Linked DNA regions of Homo sapiens: regions 1, 2, 3, 4, 6 and 7 are each linked to region 5. Evidence: promoter capture Hi-C in 16 types of primary human blood cells and fetal thymus (Javierre and others, 2016). All regions are on one chromosome and are shown on one strand. Each heading gives the region's core, a stretch centred on a gene start or on the middle of the fragment in contact. The rest is flanking DNA. Distances are from core to core; before and after follow the strand shown. Region 1 overlaps RIMS2 (regulating synaptic membrane exocytosis 2). Region 2 has its middle 39 kb from the start of DCAF13. Region 3 has its middle 14 kb from the start of KLF10. Region 4 holds the start of RIMS2 (regulating synaptic membrane exocytosis 2). Region 5 holds the start of LINC01181 (long intergenic non-protein coding RNA 1181). Region 6 overlaps RIMS2 (regulating synaptic membrane exocytosis 2). Region 7 has its middle 26 kb from the start of RIMS2.

Region 1 (2,700 bases), core at 147-2,646, 400 kb after region 5:
TCGTTTCTTTGTGTAAAGCCAACAGTAATTGGGATTGAAGCAGCTTGGAATTGATTAGATTTTTCATTTTGATAACATTTAATGTGGAATTCATATCTAAAGGCAAAATTTATATTCAAGAGCTCTGGAAATAAAATATTACTTGAATTTCAGATTTTTCAGAATGAACTCTGATTATAGAACTTTTCTACTTGTCATCGCAAATTTATACAATATTTCTATAATATTTTATAAATATTAGTGTTTCAAAATCTTAATTTACCAATTTGAATATATTTTGTTTTTGGTACATCTTTGCAGGACAAATATCTTTTTAGTTTTTCCTCTTTAGTGGCTATAGTGTCAGTTATTAACTTAATACTGTTTGCTGACTATAGATTCATTAATCTGCAGTGAAAACTTTAGTTAGTAATTTTGATTAGTGTTGTCTCTATATCCTCTCATGTGCCATCTATACACTTACTAATATCATTGAAAGTGACACATGTTCTTTGTCTTTTTTTCTTTTTGGTTCATCGATTTCAAATATAGTGTTGGCAGTTGGCAGTTTCTATGTAGACTTCTAAATGAGAGGTTCTGTATTATGCTTTGTTATTTTAAACTTGCAGACATTTTAAAAAGTTAAAATCTTGCTTTGTGGCAAGGTGCAGGCATTGTTTATTGGCCCCATAGCTTTATGTGCTAACTTCTTTATACAAATAGGACATTTAGTTTGAGAAAGAGAAGAATTATAGGAGTACAGGAACCAAAATTTGAGAAATGTATTATATTGCTGAAATAATTATTTACTTCAATAACTAAAATTTCAAAAATTTCATACTTGTACTCATACTTATATTTTCAAAAAAGTCTGCAGTCCCTTTACTGAACTTATTTAATTAAATTATGTTACATTATTTTTTATTTCTAAAATTAAAACAATCCACTATGAAATTCTGTCACGAATGACTCTCTTGGTAATTGTTAACATTAAAAGCCAATAAGAAAGAAATAAAGAGGGCCAGAATGAAAGATGGAAGAAAAGAAGGAAATACAAACAATAAAAAGATTGACAAAATAATTTATATCCTATGTGGGACATCTAATACTAGATGTTGCTATTGTTGCAATGTAGTATTCCTACATACTTTATGTGCTGGAAAAATGTAGAAACAAGGGAAAATTAAAAATAAATGTTTTACATGTGTATATTAGACAAAGAACTTCAGTAATAATAACCCAATTGGGACAAAAGTAATAATTGGACTACCTGAGATGATCCAATGGGAAGGTCGGGGAGAGGTACTACATGGCGCTGCTTCTACAAAGCCATATACACTCTACTCTCTAAAAGAATTTAAAAAATGGATATCCCCTTATACATGTTTAAGTCTGCATCTAAAAATTTCCAGCAATACAGTATAGGGAATCAAAGATAATGATTGTTTTTGATTTAAGTATTTATTTGTTCTTCCTTTAAACAAATGCATTTTGAGCATCTGTTCTATACCAGCCACTGTACTAATTTAGGAAACAGAGAGGAATAGGACACAGTCTCTGCCCTTGAGGTGCTTATAATTTAGTGGTAAAGAGTCATGTAAATAAATAATCCAAATGCATGATAAGTGCCTTAAAGTAGTTATATACCAAGTGTTGAACAGAGGAAGGGGCTAGTATACGAACATGGAGGATTTAAGGAAGTCTTTATAACCAAAGATCACATTCAAACTGGCCTTGCAGGAAAAAGTATGTGGAGAAGAAGGGCATTTTAGACATATGCTGTGAAAAGCATTTAGACACGGACTGTGAAAAGCATAGTGCATGGTGTCTTTGGGGAATAGCCAGTATTCCTATATTGCTAGGTGCATGGAAGATGGAAAGAAGGGATGGAGTGGTGGAAGGTGAAGCTAGTTGGTGAGAGTCAGTTACAAAGGGCATCATATGCAGGACTGATATTCAATTGACCTGCACCAGTACAGAGACACTAATTTTTAAAAACTGAATCACTTTGATGCATACTACTAAATATTATTGAGAGAATAAATTATCTAATGATGTTGTCTAGTGCAGTCTTATAGAATTATGAAACCTAGTAACCTTGCTGGTATGTATTAACATGGTCCTTGGAAGGCATGTACTGCCTGTAGTGTCAGTGCCTACCTGATACCCCTGTGCCCTGTTGTTGGTGGAGGCAATGGAAGGCTGCAGTGCAAGTGGTTTTCGTGGTAACTGCATTTTGCAGGGAGTGTCCTGAGGCACAGTGCTTTCAGTCTCTGTGGAAAACACTAACAGCTAGATCTGGGGTATCCAATCTTTTGGCTTCCCTAGGCCACACTGGAAGAAGAAGAATTGTCTTGGGCCACACATAAAATGCACGAATATGATAGCTGATGAGCTAAAAAAAAAAAATTGCAAAAAAATCTCATCATATTTTAAGGTTTACAAATTTATGTTGGGCCACATTCAAAGCTGCCCTTGGCCCGCGGGTTGGACAGGCTCAATCTAGATGTTTATGTGACTATGACATGCAGGCAGCCTGCCCAGTTTGTTTTAAAGTTGTAGCAAAATGGTGGGTATCAGGGACCTAATGACTCTCATTTTAATTATGAATGTGTCAGGAGAAGTCTAATATTGTTCTAAATATCCAACCATGGCTCTGTTAAGAGATTGACACTTTATAAAATTCAAAAAATGATTTGTAAGTTATTAGAATGACTGTAT
Region 2 (2,700 bases), core at 81-2,580, 330 kb after region 5:
CTTTTAGGACCTGAAAAGTAAGGCCACAAATCATTAAGGGTAGAATGTCAGTTTTCTTTTTTCCTGTGATGTAGTGAAACTTAAGCCACTACATACTTCCTAGGTTGACAGCTGAAATAAAAATCACAACATTGTTCATGTTCTTGTTCATTAGGCCTAAAATCAGTTATTTTATTTCTTCGTCTAAGAATCTCTTTTACATTTGTACAAGGAAGAGTGTGGGAAATAGTGAAAGCTGGCTAGCCTAAACCCCATTCCCAGCCCTCTTCTCTGTCTGCAGTCCTCCACTAGAGAGGCTGAAAATGCTGAGTATTTTTTTTCTACCTCCCTTGCACCTAGGGGTGGCCATGTGAACCTGTTCTGGCCAATGTGGCATAAGCAGAAGTCTACTGTGAGGTTTCTTTTTCTAGGAAAGCATTTCTTTCTTAATAAAGGAACAGATGTTGTTGGTGCTACCTCTTCCCCCTCCACTTCTTTATGCTTTAAATGTGAACCTGATACCTGTTACTGTGGTGACCATATTGTGACCATGAGTCCAAAAGAATAAGGTGAAGGATGGTGGAATGAAAAAATAGAAAAGGCCAGGGTCTTTTAGGACATCATTCACCAGGAGATCCAACCTGCTGTCTCCTGTCTTCTAATTATAAGAGACAAATAAATTACTTTCAGCTTAAGCCAGTGTTAGTTTGATTTTCTGAATACTTAACAACCAAGAAAACATCCTAATGACAAGACTTGTTTTTAAGTTTCAGTCTAAAAGCCACCCCCCACTCCAAAGGGTAAGTGAATACTTTCCATTTCATTTCTTATCTATTTTAGGTGAGACTGTTCTATCTGTAATAATCATTATAACTTTTCTTTGATTCAGTAAGTAAGCTGGACCTTTCGAAAGAATGAAAAAGAAGTGATAGTTTGGTATTATGCAAACAGTAGTTCATCATCAAGATGTGCAAGTAACACAATTCAGTAATCATCCTCTGGGTGATAATAACTTTTAACCAGTTTGGAAATGAGGCCGTTTACAGACCATGAAGGGGCAGGGTTCAGGTGGCTTATCATATCAAGGCATTTTCTTTGGAAGGTAATGAAACTGACTTCTATAAAGCGGAAAGTACATCCTCTCTGTAAGGATTCTTAATTCTTCTACCTCGATTTTGTATTGAATAGATACAAAATAGAACTCGCTCTCTTGACAGGCTCCTCTGTTTTTAGTAGAATGAGGTACAACTCTTCCAAAGCACCTTTTTTGTGGACTTTGTCTGGTCCTAATAAGTACTCCACAGAATAGTAGATGTACTTCTATAGTTTCTAAGCTATCAGCTGCAATGCCATGTATCTATCAGCTTTGTCATCTGACACTATCAAGTTCCCCATGATCTCACAGTCACTTCAGATAGCCAGTCTAGTTCGTTAATGCCACCTGTTCTGAACCAATTCTCCATCAATTGTTCGCTGATTCTGGCTTCAAATTTCCACATCAGATCATTCAATAACAACCGCCAACTGCTTTTTGTTTTAAATTGAGGTTAAATTCACGTAACATAAAATTGTCCAGTTTAAAGTATACAATTCAGTGACATTTCATATATTCACAATGTTCTACAACCACTAACTTATCAAGTTCCAAAACATTTTCATCACCCAAAAAGAAAACCCTGTACATATTGGCCAAGTGTGGTGGCTCACGCCTGTAACCCTAGCACTTTGGGAGGCCAAGGCGTGTGGATTGCCTGAGCTTGGGAGTTCAAGACCAGCCTGGGCAACATGGTGAAACCCCGTCTCTACTAAAATACAAAAGAAATTAGCCGGGCATAGTGGCGTGCGCCTGTAGTCCCAGCTGCTCGGGTGGCTGAGGTAGGAGAATTGCTTGAACTCGGGAGGCGGAGGTTGCAGTGAGCCGAGATCGCACCACTGCACTCCAGCACTCCAGCACTCCAGCACTCCAGCACTCCAGCCTGGGCGACAGAGTGAGACTCCATCTCTACAAAAAAAAAAAAAAAAGAAAAGAAAAAAAAAACCCAGTCACTCAAAATTATTCTCTCCTTCCAGCCTGACGCAATCACTAATCTGCTTTCTGTCTCTATGGATTTACATATTGTGGATATCTCAACAAAATGGAATCATATATGTGAACTTTTGTGTTTGGCTTCTACTTAGCATACTGTTTTCGAGGTTCATCCATGTCATAGCATATATCAGTACTTCGTTTCTTTTTATGGCTGAATAATATTCCATTGTGTTCATATACCACATTTTGTTTATCCATTCTTTCATTCACGGACATCTATGTGGTTTTCACCTTTGAGCCATTGTGACTAAGTGCTGCTGTAGACATTCGTGTACAAGAATTTGAGTACTTATTTTAAATTTTTTTGTCTATATACCCAGGAATAGAATTGCTGGGTCATAGGGCGATTTTATGTTTAGCCTTTTGAGGAACAACCATACTGTTTGTTGTATGTAAATGCTGTAGCAGCTGCACCATTTTACATACCCCTAGCAACGTACAAGTGTTCCAATTTGTTCACATCCTTACCAATGCTTATTTTGCTTTTTAAAGAAAATGATAGCCATCCAAGTAAATATAAAGTTGCATCTCATTGTTGTTTTGACTTGCATTTCCTTAATGAGTAACACTGTCGAGCATCTTTTCATGTGCTTGTTGGCCATTTGCATATCTTCTTTAGGGAAATGTCTATA
Region 3 (2,830 bases), core at 41-2,540, 480 kb before region 5:
AGGAAGCAAGGAGGGAAAGGGGGAGGGAAGGAAAGAAGGGAGGGAGGAAGGAAGGGAGGGAGGGAGAGAAGGAAAGAGGAAGGAGAGAAGGGAGGGAGGGAGGAAAGAGGGAAGGGAGGAAGGGAGGGAGGGAGGAAAGAGGGAAGGGAGGAAGGGAGGAAGGGAGGGAGGGAGGAAAGAGGGAAGGGAGGAAGGGAGGAAGGGAAGGAGGGAGGGAGGAAGGAAGGAAGGAAAGGAAGGAAAAAAATACTGCTATTGGTGTATTATGATGGAATAATATAGACTGACATGTTGACCAATGCTATGATCCTTCCCAAAATTCATATGTTAAAGTCCTAACCCCAGTACCTCAGAATGCGACTGTATTTAGAAATAGGATTCAAAAGAGTTAACTAAGGGTAAATGAGTTCACTGGAACAGGCTCTAATTCAATATGACTGGTATTGTTAAAAGAAGAGATCAGGGCACAGACACAGGAGGAAAATCATGTGAAGACACAGGGAGAAGATGGCCACCCACAAGGCAAGGAGAGAGGCCTCAGGAGAAACCAATCCTGCTGACATCTTGATCTCGGCCTTCTAGCCTCTGGAAGTGTGAGGAAATAAATTTCTGTTGTTTAACCTACCCAGTCAGCGGTTCTTTGTTATGGCAGCCCTAGCAAACTAATACAACCAGTATACCAGACACTCTTCTATTTTAAAAAAAGGTAATCAAAGCTTAGAAGTTTCAATACTATTGTCCCAATTCGTAGAAATCTCTGGAATCTATATGTTCATTGTTCCTCTGTCTTGCCACTTCCCAAAATATATTGTCCAATTAAAGAGCTAAAGTCAGCATGGAAACTGGACTAAACTGAACATTGTCTTTATTTCAGGGCTTTGGGGTCTTACTGCCTACTCTGTAGAAATACTTCACTGCTTTTAATATCCATTGCTAAGTCTGTGTTAGCAAATTATCCCAAAATGTAGTGGCTTAAGATAATTATATACATTTGTTATCTATCACAGTTTCTGTAGGTCAAGAATCGGGGATGGCTTAGCTACATTGTTCTGGCTCAGGGTTGTCAGAGGTTACAGTCAAGATATCAGCTAGGGTTGCCGTCATCTGAAGGCTTGATTGAGGCTGGAAGATCTACTTCCAAGTAGCTCTCTCACTTGGTTGGCATCGTGGTGCTAGCTGTTGGCAAAAGGTGTAGTTCTCAGCATGTAGACCTCCGCATAGACCTGCTTGTGCATCCTCACAACATGACAACTGGCTTCCCTCAGAGTGAGTGATCCAAGACGGATCATGCTGGAAACAATAATATCTTTTATGAGGAGTCTTGGAAATTACACACCATCGTTTCTACACCATCCTACTGGTTATATAGATCAACTCTAGTCAAAATGAGCAGACACTACATGAGGACATGAATATCCAAGAGCAAAAATTATTGGGTGCCATCTTGGAAATGAGCTGCTTCATTGCTTCATCCCAATTTTGTGAACATTTGGAATTTGACCTTCCTCCCTAACAGGGACCACAACATGACAATTTCTATACTGATGTCGGATGCTGCCCCACCTATAGGGGCCTTTTCTGTCTTAATAATTGATCTGAGTTGTGACAGTGCAATACCCACCATTGATATTTGGGCAGCCCTCTTAATGTTTGAACCCCCTCCCTCCACTGCCAACACCCCCCCGACACACACACACACAGAGTTTTCAAGCCTAATTCTATCTTGAGAAACAGGTTAGATGAGCGTTATAACCTCATTGTATAGATACTGAAACAAAGCTGTGAAATAGTGAAATTGCTTACTTAGCTTACATTTGTAGCCAGCATAGAAGTGACACCAGCATGATGGCCCCATGACCCCAGGAGAAGCTTCCTTTCACAAGGCCACACTGTTTTACTTTGTCTAGTGGTAATAAACACTCAGTGCTTGTATTTATCTTTTCAATGAGATTGTGCAAACTAAAAGGGTGCCTTTTTGAAACTGATATTCAAGCTTCACACAGCTTAATCAGAGAAATAGGAAACTGCTTCTACCACAGCCTGGGTCATCCTTTCTTCACTTCACGTTATTTCTTAACTTTTCTTCTCAGAATTTTATATAGATTTTTCTAAACCCAGGCTGTGCCTCCAATTTAGAATTAAAATTTAGAATTAAAAATTAAATTCTTCCAAGAAAATGAAAGAAAGATAAGGTGTCATCTTTTTATATTTTGGGGCATTTTCTCCCTTTCAGCATCTTGCTGCCAAGCTGGTCAATCAAGGTCATGCAGGGATTGTTGGCATCCATGGTAGAGAGCCATGAATTTCTAATCTCTGTCAAGATCAGGATGCCAACTGGCAGGGGAAGCTTAAAACAACAGACGGCTCCATTTAGTTTTATCCCTTCCGTTAGAATAAGCCAAAGATGAGAGAGTTATGCTTCCTTGGAATTCTGTGTCTGTCAATTTGAGGCCGCATTATGTGGGCAGACCTGGCACAGGTGTGGCCTGATGATTTCCTTGGGGCAGAGATGTTTTTGTCACTCATGCTGATCTTCATTCCCTTGGGATTTTGAATTCCTAGAGCTCTGGGCATAACTTTATATCATTTTTAGCCCATGCTTGATGGGGCATCTGAGATTGGGCACTTTATCATGAATGAATGAACTAAATTCAGACTTGGAGAATTCCCTCAAGCTGGGATCATTATAAAGAGAACAAAGGGATTTCAGTAAATTGACGAACTCAGTTCATACATTGGAGGCTTCTATGGTAACTCTACCCAAATGTATGCTTTCTAATTAAATGATGAGTACTCATGCTCTAGCTTTCCTCAGCAAATGGCCATGTTT
Region 4 (2,711 bases), core at 120-2,619, 380 kb after region 5:
CCCCGCTCCCCTCGCCCTGTCCCCGCCCTCGACACCACCTGCGTTCCCCACTCGCTCCAACCTCCCTCCCCCGCTATCCCCACTTGTGGGCCTCCAGCTCTCTGCCCCTTTCCTGGCCCCCATCCCTGACACCCCAGGGACCCTTCCTCCCTCCTCACGTTCTCCCTCCTTCCAGGATCCCGCCCCGACACTTCGGGGCCCTCCCGCTACGCGCACTCTTTCTCCTCAGGTCCTGACACCTGGGCGCCCCCTCCCTGTCACCCACCTTCAGCTCCAGCCCTGACTCTCGGGCGCCTTGCCACCCTTACGCTCCCCGCCCCGCCCCGGTCCCTCGGGCGCCCCCACTCGCCGCCTCTACCTCCCTACCTGCTACACCTGGCACCCCTGCCCCCACCCCTGCTCATACTCTTCCCCCGCCCCCGACACCTCGGGCGCCCCCTCACACGCTCCTATTCTCCACACTTCCGTCCCCGAAAACTCGGGCGCCCTCTCCCTTCACGCTCAGTCTCTCCTCCCTCCCCGCCCGGCCCCGGACCCAGCCTGGAGATCGCGCTCGGGAGGGGCGGCTGCCGCCCGCGGGGCGCCCGCGGTGCCCGGGCCTGGGCAGCGAGGAGGTGACGCCGCCCCCGCGGGATGAGCCCGGGAGGCGGAGGGGCGGAGGAGGTGCTGGCGGCGGCACTGAGCGGCGGCGGCGCAGGGCGCGCGGGCCTTCCGCGCCGACTCCATCGACCCAAGGGGCGGCGGCGGTGGCGGCGGCTGAGCGACCCTGGGCCGGGCGCGTGATGAGGAGGGGCCGGCGCCAGACCCCGCTGCACGTCGGAGCTCGCCTGGATCCGGGCGTTGGCAGCCGAAGGGCCCTGGCCCCGGGACTCTCCGCCGCTAGCCCCCGTCATATCTTCTCCGCTTTCGCTTCTCCACTCTAGCCGGGGGTGGGGTGGGTGGGGTTGGGGTCTCCGCGGGGGTTTCCGGCCCCGCGGCCCGCTCCCGGGTGTGCCTGGAGGAGTTCTCCCTCTGTGGCGCGCGGGAGCCCTGTGATGCGTCAGCCGGCGGGACGGATGAGTTGCTTCTCCGGGAAACCGTCCTCGCTTCCTCACGACCCTCTCGGCTCCCGCCTGGGTGCCCCTCGGGCCGGCAGTACTCCGCCTCCGGGCGCTCGAAGCGAGTTCCCCGGGGGCTTGTTCGCAGGCACCCCTTCCCCTCCGAGGCGGCGCGCGCGCTCCCGGCCCTGACCGCGGCCGGACACACTCGCGCCCCGGTCCGCCTGTCGCCCTCCCGCCTGCTCCCTCCAGTCACCCCACCCTTAGCTGTCCCCGCCACCTTACTCCACCACCCTCCCCCGCCTCTCCGCGCACTCCGCGTCCCGGCCTCCAGTTCCCCTTTCCCTTGAACCGCTCACTTCACAGCCCTTCGCCCCCGGGAAGAAGAAACATTTCCCGAAGCGCACTCCTCAGCCCTCCTTCCCCACGCGCTCGCCCTCCCCTCCCCCTGCTTTTCTTGGGGGAGGGGGGCTGTCGCCTTGGATTGAAGGCCATTGATTTGTATGTATTTGTCCCAGCGCTGGAGGCTGCCCCAGCCGCCGCGCCGGTGCCGCCGCTGCCAGTGGAGTTGCCTCCCCGCTTCCCTAGGGTGGTTCGGCTCCACCAAACATGTCGGCTCCTGTCGGGCCCCGGGGCCGCCTGGCTCCCATCCCGGCGGCCTCTCAGCCGCCTCTGCAGCCCGAGATGCCTGACCTCAGCCACCTCACGGAGGAGGAGAGGAAAATCATCCTGGCCGTCATGGATAGGCAGAAGAAAGAAGAGGAGAAGGAGCAGTCCGTGCTCAAGTAAGGACCTGGCTCCATATTCCCGCCTCTCTCCCTGCCCTCCGCCCCCTCGCCCACTGCCCTGCGGCCGCCTGCGCGCCCCAGTTCGCCGCCCTCCCTCCCGCTGGCGGCGCCCAGGCCACGAGGGCTGCGGCCAGCGCCGGCCGCCCGGGCTGTTTTAGGGGTGTCTGAGAGCAGGGGTGTGTGTCGGGGAGGGAGGGCGCCAAGGCCGGCTGAGGTGAGGGTGGCGAGCCTTAGGCGGTGTGATTTTCCTTGGCGCCTTTCCGGATTTCCTCGCTGGTCATCTTGGCTCCGGGGCCCCAGCGGGACTGGGGCTGAACCCAGGCTCTGTGCGTACCCTCTCCTTTCCCGCCGCGCTGAGGCAGTGACTGGGGCACAGAATCCAATATGGCCGTGCACAGGTGCTCCCTGGACGGACCCGGGCGAAGGCGCGCTGGCAGGGGATGCGGACGCCACCCTGGTCCCACGCCTCCGCGGGGCGGCTCTACCAGCAACGCGGGACAGAGCAGGGCTGCCCACAGTGGCTGCGAGCAGCGGGCGGCGGCGCGGGCTAGGGGCCTAAGCTCTGTCGCGGTCGGGTGGGTGTGCGTCCGCCGCCATCTTCCAGCCCCTCCCCCTCGGCGAGTGCTAACACCCTGCACTCTGCTGCTCTTCCTGTTTGCAACTAGTAAATCTGTTTAATCCTGAAGAGACTCCAGTTCCTACCATCACTGCAGTTTGGGATGCTCCCTACCTTGTGAAGTTCTACTATTCTTGCTCACGGTCTTGGCAGGCCGGGTTTTTCTGAGGGTGGTAGGAGTGAAAGCAGCACCCAGGCATGCGTTTACCGGCTCTGGAACTTCAGCACCAGGGAACTGTCCAGACAGGGTTATCTTTAGCTCTGAGACTA
Region 5 (2,700 bases), core at 38-2,537:
TTGGCATTTTCTGTGTAACATACCTTTCTTTCCTACTAGAAACAGTTTCTCTAGTTCAGGATCTATGTCTTATTTATCAACTCCCAAAACTGTCCCTTCTTTGAATTCCTTTGATACTTAATACCCAAGTCACTCATTTGGCATTTATGTTACCTTGTATGGTCTATTGTATTTCTATTCTGTTTATACATAGTGACTCTTGAACTAGACTATAAACTCCTTCGAGGTAGAAGTCTTGCTTTGAACATTTTGTGTCCCCATTTGTTATTTGTTGAAAACAAGGCATGCCAAGGAAGGTGCTAAGGGCTGGATATGGGATAAGAGACCCTGGTCTACCTTTGGGGATTCACAATCTGGGGAATTTCCTCAGGCAGGGCACAAAACCTATGAGACAATCCTGCTTTCCTGCTGAACTTGGACCTGGGACAGGGTGGGGATGGGTGAGGCTGGAGCTGCTGCAGCAGCGTGCCTCCAATGCCTATAAATTTCCTGTTGGCTCTCATCCGTCTGGGCTGAATTTTCTATCAACCAATAGAAAATACAGACAGGTATTATGAAAGAGGGTGTTAGGAAATCCCATGCAATTATTATACATGTCACAAATGTGTGGGTGCATATGCACCTGTGAGTGTGTGACAGACAGAGAGGGAGGAAGAGCACTAGGAGGAAATGCCATCTGAACTGAATCTTGAAAGACAAACGGGAGTTAACGAAAGATGTTCCTGAGAGAGTGGCAGGTCTGTGCTTGCATCCTGATGTCAGAGTCAGATAAACTCCAGAAGCCTCAGGGCCTCTGCACTCTATCCCAGTGCTTCCCCAAACTCCTGTTGAGGGCAGACTCTTTTAGAATATGTTAACGAATGGATGTGCAGAAGAAAACTATCTTCTGAGAACAAAATTGCTCTAGTTTCTGCATTGCTGGTTTTCTCTGAACCTTTAATATGCTGATAGGCACTCAACAACAGAATCCTTTGTTGGCAGAGCACAAATTACCCTCTGTCTGTTGAACAGTTTCAGAAAGTTTATGAAGCACTTTTCAATGAGGTGTGGAGTAATAAATGATTCAGCAACACTTAAGTCCTGCCACCCTAGGCCTAACTGGTTACACTGTCATGAAAATTTACAAATTACATGGTACCAAAGACAATATAAACACAATCTATTGGGTAAACAATTGCATGATGGATTACTGTAGACTTATCAATAGTTATGGCATAATTCAGTCTTTATTTTTGCATATGAAAGGCTCTCACGCAAGCATTTTTCTGTAGCTCATTGGAATACAGTACAGATGGCCTGGATCAGTGCAATGTGCAACAAGAGGACTATATCGTCTCAGTAAAAACCTTGAAGAGATGAACCCATTTCAGAGACCCAGCAAGGGATCACCTGCATATACAGGCATCAGCAGAAACAGGAATTTGGGATTTATCCTGGAGGTAGTGGAAGCTTTTGGAGGTCTTAACCAGGTGAATGCAATGATTGGGTATATTTTAGAAAGCTCATTCACAGGGAGAGAGGACTTGAAGCGGGGTTGTTACTAGAGACAAAGAAACTAGTTAGGAAGTTATTTCAGGTAATGAGGGAGACATAATTTAGGGGCTAAACCAAGGAAGTGACAATAGGAATGGAGAGAAGGCACAGCTTGCGAAGCATTTAGGTGGTAGAACTGATTGACTCAGCTCTGAGGCAGCTGTGGGGGTGAGAAGCTGGGGTGGGTGAGGGTGGGAAGAGGGTGGGGAGGGTTGGAGGAGTCAAGAATGAACCATGACTTCTGGTTCGTGCAACAGAGTGAAGAGCTGAGGCCCCATGGTTTCCAGGCAGCCTGTGCCAGTGAGAGAAATGCAGAATAGAGTTTGATTTGAACTCTGGCTCTGTCAACGACTTGGTACTATGGCCTTGTGCAAGCAAGTTAACGTCTCCAAGCCTTACTTTTATCTTTTGTAAAATGGGACGATGATACCCCGCTCTTGCATGTGTGAAATAACTAACACATAGTCTGTGCTTCAGAAGTGAAGTCACTGCTACTCAGAGAACACAGAAGGAGAAGCAGTTTACAGAGAAAGATGAGTTTCATTTCAGAAACACTGCACTTGAGGTGGCTTGGACAGCCATGTGGAGGTGTCCAGTAAGGCATTAGATATATAGGTATGGAACTCAGGAGAAAGATCTGGGCTGGAGAGAGTTCTAGGGGCCACTGACTTTTTGATATTAGGCCAAGGCAAGGAGGTAAATGAGAACAACCAGAGAGAGTGTGGAGAGGGAGAGAAATGCAGGCCCTAACGGACGGCCTTGGGAGCATCACCATTCAACAGCTGAGGAAAGGAAGCAGAGCCGGCAAGGGAGATGTTCTGGAGCCTGCAGGGCTGTGCAGTCAGAAGGAGGCGCAAACCAGAATCTGAAGACGCAGGTTTGAGTCTCAGCTCCCTTGCTGACTAGCTGTGTGATCCTCGCAATTCAGGTAACCTCTGTAAGCTTGTCTTCTCATTCGTCAAATGGGAATGCTGCTGATAATGTCTACTTCCTGGAGACTTTGGTGAGCTAAGGTGTATAATTTTTTTTTTTAAGCTAGAGAGCCTTATAAGTGGTTCCATGTGGTCATTTTTTCCCCCTAGACTGAATCGGCTTACATCTAAAAGCAAGGTCACTTTAAGAGGGTCTCTGTGACTCTGGCCTTGCTTGCTCAGCAGGAATTCCAGC
Region 6 (2,700 bases), core at 157-2,656, 410 kb after region 5:
ATGAGTTGCTAAGTTAGATGACAAAGCACTGGGTTTATTATGTATTAGTGCTGTAGTTATACTAAAGGAATATAATATATGTTGACATTACCAGACTAAGCATTGATCACAATATTCTCAAGTAGGGAAAATTAGAATATTAAAGTGGAATATAAGCTGATTTTCTTTACGAAAGTAATAAATGAAAATAAGGCTGTGACCAAAAAGTAAGTTTCTAAGTGGTTCTCTTGTTAGCCAAGCAAATAAATCCATTTAAGATATGGTTAGTTAATTAAATCATATTTGATTGCAGGAACTGAAAAAATGTATCTAGAGAAAATAAACATTAAGCCTTTTGGTGGGAACAGTTTCTCAAAGAGTTGAGGGTATTGGGAGCAGCATTTCTAGTCAGTTACAAAACACAACAAGTGATTTTTGAGTGGTTTTCCTTGACTCTTGGTGAATTGACAAATGTTATCAATACTTTTCTGTTGTTTTTTATTTTAGGAGTTAGTATTGAGTTTTAATAAGCCTCTGAATAGTCAGTGTGGAACAATTAGTGGCAAGAACATTTTCAAATAATTTGAGAAAACATTAATTTAGTACAACCTGAAGTGGAATCTGCTAAGATGTGTTAAAAACTGATAAAACATGGGAGGCTGAGGCAGGAGAATTGCTTGAACCTAGGAGGCAGAGGTTGCAGTGAGCTGAGATCATGCCACTGCACTCCAGCCTGGGGGACAAAGCGAGACCCTGTCTCAAAAAAAAAAAAAAAAAAAAAGAAAAAGAAAAAAACCTGATAAAAGATAAAAATAATGTATGGAGTAGAAAAAGTCTTAGTTGGACAACTTTTCAAAGCTTGTAAAAATTAAGGTGTTTAGAGCTTATGGTTATTCATTGTGTTATTTATGAGTAGATATTCTGCAGAAAATATTTGAATCATCATGTGTTACTGAGTCACTAGTGTCAACAGTGAACTTCGTTCCTTCTTGTAGATGTAACCATCATGACTTCTGTGCATTTTTGTCAGAAATTGAATATTATGACTCATTCTATCAAATAGAAGTGTGATGGTCTAGCAGTCATAAAATTTTATTTCAATTTTTTGAGCTCAAGGCTGACGTTGAACTGTTTCTGAAAAATACACTAAGCCCTGTTATTGAACACTGGATGGCTTTGGAAATTTGCTTTTGCTGCAAAATTGATAAATTTCTGTGTTCAACTTAGAAGCTCCACATATAAGGTAAAACTGTGCTTACATATGGAATTTATAAGTTCTACCATGGAACTTAAAGTCATTTCAATGACAATGTTTATCACAAATAATTTCAAGCTACTTTATATGCTTCCTATGCTGTCAATAGTTAAGTAGTGAGCTCCTCATTCCCACACAGATTTTCAGTTGATATATTTTCCAAGCTCAGACTATAGTATCAACCTAATTTTTCAGACTTTGAAGCAAGTACAAAAGACATATACATATTTCAAAATTTATTTAACTGTGTAATTGAAGAGTTAATATCCAACTTTCATCTGCAATGTATGATGTATAACATGCTAAAAGGCAAATGTCTAGAGAAGTCTCAAACTCAATTCTATAAGTATCCTCTAAGTGATGAATATCATCAATTAAAAACATTCTCATTGTTTGATATCAGTACGTATTTGTATTTCCTATCTGTGCAAAAATATATTACTAAAATGAAATACATAAAATCATATTACAGATCAGCATTAACAACAGGACATTTGCAATTGATTTGGATCATTTGGAATACTAACTTTGAATCCCAATTGAGTGAAATATTTTCCCCCCAAAGAGAATTCCATTATTCTCATCAGTAGACCTGTATTATTACATTCAATTATTTGAATTTTATCAATAAGGGTTTTGTAGAAATTTGTTTTTTATTGTTCTGTTAGCACTACACATTATCCTTAATTTTGCCTTTTGACTTACAAAGCCTTATTTACTGTCTGGCACTTTACAGGAAAAAAAGCTTGCCAACCCTTGATTTAGGCCAGTAAAAAATACCAGTTGAGACTTATTTGAAATCTTTACATTGTATTGATTTTCTTCTTTGAATGAACAAGAGAAATTTATTTCTCTTTAGCTTGAAAATATCCAGTTTACTGTTGCCTCTTTCTGGCTAAAAGAATGTTTTTTTGCCTTTGAATATAAATTGTTATTTACGACTTTAGAATGTACTTATATATGGTTAATTTCAACAACTACCTTTATCATCAGCTCTGAATGTCAGAACTTTCTCTTTGTGAAATTTTATCCTAGTCATGTAAGCATTAGCTGTAGCAGAGGTTATGCTAGCAGAAGTAGAGTAAGTTTGGAGGAGGAGTATAAATGCTTCCTCTTCTCTTGCTATGCAGCCTATCGATTGCCCTTAATTATTTCTACATAGTTTGGCAATGAGCTATACTGCTAGAAAAGCCTTCTCTCTACCTAGACTTTTGACTCTGATATTAGAAACTACCAGGAACCTTGCTCAGAAATGTGATTATTCATTCCATAGGTGGCAGATCAGGCTCAAGTATATCTACAGGATTTTAATACTGTAATGTGTAGCCCCATTATTGAGTCGATTACAGCTAGAAGAACTGATTTGAATGCCCGCAGAGCTTTGCCAGAATTCAACGTTAGCTTTTGGCTAGACTCCAGGAGCCAGTGGTGTACTTTGGCCATCTGTTCTGCTTCCTCACCTTCAG
Region 7 (2,700 bases), core at 155-2,654, 350 kb after region 5:
ATACCCAGTGTTAAGAAGAATGTAACTCTCACATACACACAAAATGGTGTGAGTCCTTTGGAAATCAATTTGGGCTTTTCTTAAAAGTTAAATATCCACTTACTATATGATCCAGACATTCTACTCTAAGATACAAAGATCTGTAAACCAATGTCCACAGCAGCTTTATTCTAATAGAAAAAAAAATCAACTCCAATGTCCCTCAACAAGTAAATACATACACATATTTTGATATGTTCATACCATGAAATACTATTCAAAAACTAAAAGGAACAAGTTATCAATTAACACAACATCATGGATGGATCTTAAAATAATTATTGTCAGTTATAGAAGACATATCCTCCCTCCCCACCAAAAAAAAAGGGAAAGAGTGTGGACTATATGATTCTGCTTATATAAAAGTCTAGGAAATGCAAACCAGTGTATAGTGATAGAAGGAAGACCGTGGTTACCTGTTGCTTATGGTCGCTTGGGTTTATGAGAGGGAGAAATAACAAAGGGGCATGAGGAAGCTTTGCAGTGTGATATATGTGTTTATTATTTTGATTTGGTAACGGTTTCATGCATATATATATATAATTCAAAATTAACCAAATTTTATACTTTAAAAATGAAGGCTTTATTCTGTGTCAGTTATACCTCAATAAAACTGTTAATAATAAAAGTAAAAACAAAACAAAACAAAACGGTATTTTTTAAGCAAAGTATGCAAAGTTTATGAATATGTTAATTAGCTTAATGATAGTTAAGCAAAGTGATGAATATGTCAATTAGATTAATCTAATGAGCTTTAGCTACAATAAAATCTACTTTGTCTGCATATATCAAAACACTGGGCCAGGTGCAGTGGCTCAAGCCTGTAATCCCAGCACTTTGGAAGGCCAAGACACATGGATCACCTGAGGTCAGGATTTTGAGACCAGCCTGGCCAACATGGTGAAACCTCATCTCTACTAAAAATACAAAAATAAGATGGGCATGATGGCAGGCTCTGTAATCCCAGCTACTCAGGAGGCTGAGGCAGGAGAATCGCTGGAACCTGGGAGGCAGAGGTTGCAGTGAGCTGAGATTGTGCCACTGCACTCCAGCCTGGACAACAGAGCAAGACTCCATCTCAAAAAACAAAACAAAACAAAACATTGCATTGTATCCCATAAATGTATACAATTATAATTTGCCAATTAAAAATAATATTAATAAAAAAGAACACAGGAAATTACCACAACACACAATATTCAACGTTTTGTGAGAAACCAAGATAGAAAACTAACCATAATAACACAGAGCAAGTGTGCAAGTGATGTTCCATGGATGTGAAATCTAACCCCAGTGATTCTGCAAGTCAATAGGACCTACGTCTGGGTTACTTGGCAGAAATGATGATCACAAGTGAACAAACAAATCAGGTAATTGATCAACTGGTGATGATCTAATTCAATTATCTTCTAATATTACCTAGACTTCTTTAGGTAGGTTGTCCAGGAGACAGTATTTGCTGATAATTGTGCCTCCAAGAATGTACATATGTTTCTATGATAATAATGCATAATTTGCAATATTATGGAATGATATAAACCTAGGGAGCCAAAGTCCTGTATTAGTCAACACTGCATCATTTTTCAAGTGAAACAATATTTATTGAGCACATACTATATACCTGACCAATTTGGATGCTGGGAATACATCAGTGCACAAGACAAAACTCTTTCTGTCATGAAGATTACATTCTGGTAGGTGAGAGAGATTAAAAAAACTATAAACAGAAATATATGTACAGGTTGAGCATCCTTAATCCAAAAATCCAAAATCCAAAATGCTCCAAAATCTTAAACGTTTTGAGTGCCAACATGGTACCACAAGTAGAAAATTTGATGCCTGACCTCATGTGACAGGTTTCATTAAAAACTTTGTTTCATTTACAAAATTATTTAAAATAGTACAAAAAATTACCTTTAGGGTATGTGTATAAGGTATATATGAAACATAAACAAATTTTGTGTTTACAGTGATTTCACCCCCAGGATATTTCATCATGTATATACAAATATTCCAAAATCCACAAAAAATGTGAAATCCAAAACATTTCTGGTCCCAAGCATTTCAGATAAGGGATACTCAACCTGTAATATAAATTCAGGTAGTGAGAAGTTACATGAAGAAAAATAAAGCGAATCAAAGATATTGAGAATGACAAAAGGCAGGTGATCTAATTAGAAAACACGGTAAGGGACAGTTTCTCTGAGGAGGTAGCATTGAACAGAGACCTGAGACATATGACTCTACAAGGCAAGAAGCTTCCAGGCGTGGATGAATGTTCCTGAGACACAAGTTAGCTTCATACAGTATATATGAGGAAGAGTGAGAAAAGGCCAGTGTTCCTGAAGTGGGGAAAGAGACCAAGAGAGTGGTAGTCAGGACCCAAATCACATAGGGTTTTGTAGTTCAGATTGTATTATGCATATTTTGGAAAGCTTTAGAGGCTTTGGAGCAGAAAAGCAACATGATTCAGGCTACATTTTGAAAATATCACCATGGGGAAGAGATCCCATGGGAGACAAGACTGAAAGGAGGTAGACTAGTCAGGAGACTACTGCTATGGTCCAGGTAAGTGCTGACAACAGCCTGGGCCTATTGTGCAAGTTGTAGTAATGGTGAAAAGTGATCAGATTCTATATATATATAGAGAGAAACCATATA

Evidence for each region. The method cuts DNA at HindIII sites, captures the fragments that hold promoters and counts their contacts. A CHiCAGO score of 5 or more calls a contact.
Region 1: a contact is called between a fragment that was not itself captured here and the fragment with the promoter of LINC01181 in region 5, in 13 of 17 cell types (megakaryocytes, naive CD4 T cells, endothelial precursors and 10 more). The highest score is 18.3, in megakaryocytes.
Region 2: a contact is called between a fragment that was not itself captured here and the fragment with the promoter of LINC01181 in region 5, in 3 of 17 cell types (endothelial precursors, megakaryocytes and M2 macrophages). The highest score is 6.8, in endothelial precursors.
Region 3: a contact is called between a fragment that was not itself captured here and the fragment with the promoter of LINC01181 in region 5, in 1 of 17 cell types (neutrophils). The highest score is 5.4, in neutrophils.
Region 4: the fragment with the promoter of RIMS2 here is called in contact with the fragment with the promoter of LINC01181 in region 5 in 17 of 17 cell types (total CD4 T cells, activated CD4 T cells, erythroblasts and 14 more); the score reaches 29.8 in total CD4 T cells.
Region 6: a contact is called between a fragment that was not itself captured here and the fragment with the promoter of LINC01181 in region 5, in 7 of 17 cell types (total CD8 T cells, total CD4 T cells, activated CD4 T cells and 4 more). The highest score is 8.3, in total CD8 T cells.
Region 7: a contact is called between a fragment that was not itself captured here and the fragment with the promoter of LINC01181 in region 5, in 1 of 17 cell types (endothelial precursors). The highest score is 6.0, in endothelial precursors.

Annotation. Positions count from the first base shown.
Region 1 is chr8:103,515,546-103,518,245 of GRCh38, forward strand. All of the region lies in intron 1 of RIMS2 (regulating synaptic membrane exocytosis 2), which reads left to right. Among named protein-coding and RNA genes, the nearest start is that of RIMS2, 16 kb to the left of the region's middle. The HindIII fragment of the contact is 2,914 bases long and covers 1-2,700 here.
Region 2 is chr8:103,453,423-103,456,122 of GRCh38, forward strand. No RefSeq gene overlaps it. Among named protein-coding and RNA genes, the nearest start is that of DCAF13, 39 kb to the left of the region's middle. The HindIII fragment of the contact is 3,690 bases long and covers 1-2,700 here.
Region 3 is chr8:102,640,504-102,643,333 of GRCh38, forward strand. No RefSeq gene overlaps it. Among named protein-coding and RNA genes, the nearest start is that of KLF10, 14 kb to the right of the region's middle. The HindIII fragment of the contact is 1,153 bases long and covers 715-1,867 here.
Region 4 is chr8:103,499,241-103,501,951 of GRCh38, forward strand. RIMS2 (regulating synaptic membrane exocytosis 2) reads left to right here and starts at 1,370. Exons shown (of 30, transcript NM_001348484.3): 1 at 1,370-1,822. The coding sequence starts at 1,647. LOC105375690 (a long non-coding RNA gene) reads right to left here and starts at 2,670. Exons shown (of 5, transcript NR_145698.1): 1 at 2,556-2,670. RefSeq lists a silencer at 2,481-2,711. The HindIII fragment of the contact is 4,153 bases long and covers 1-2,711 here.
Region 5 is chr8:103,119,745-103,122,444 of GRCh38, forward strand. It overlaps LINC01181 (long intergenic non-protein coding RNA 1181), which reads left to right and starts at 1,288. Exons shown (of 6, transcript NR_145429.1): 1 at 1,288-1,469. RefSeq lists an enhancer at 2,325-2,700. The HindIII fragment of the contact is 1,509 bases long and covers 1-1,447 here.
Region 6 is chr8:103,532,923-103,535,622 of GRCh38, forward strand. The region is part of intron 1 of RIMS2 (regulating synaptic membrane exocytosis 2); the gene reads left to right. Among named protein-coding and RNA genes, the nearest start is that of RIMS2, 34 kb to the left of the region's middle. The HindIII fragment of the contact is 1,142 bases long and covers 836-1,977 here.
Region 7 is chr8:103,473,298-103,475,997 of GRCh38, forward strand. No RefSeq gene overlaps it. Among named protein-coding and RNA genes, the nearest start is that of RIMS2, 26 kb to the right of the region's middle. The HindIII fragment of the contact is 1,782 bases long and covers 514-2,295 here.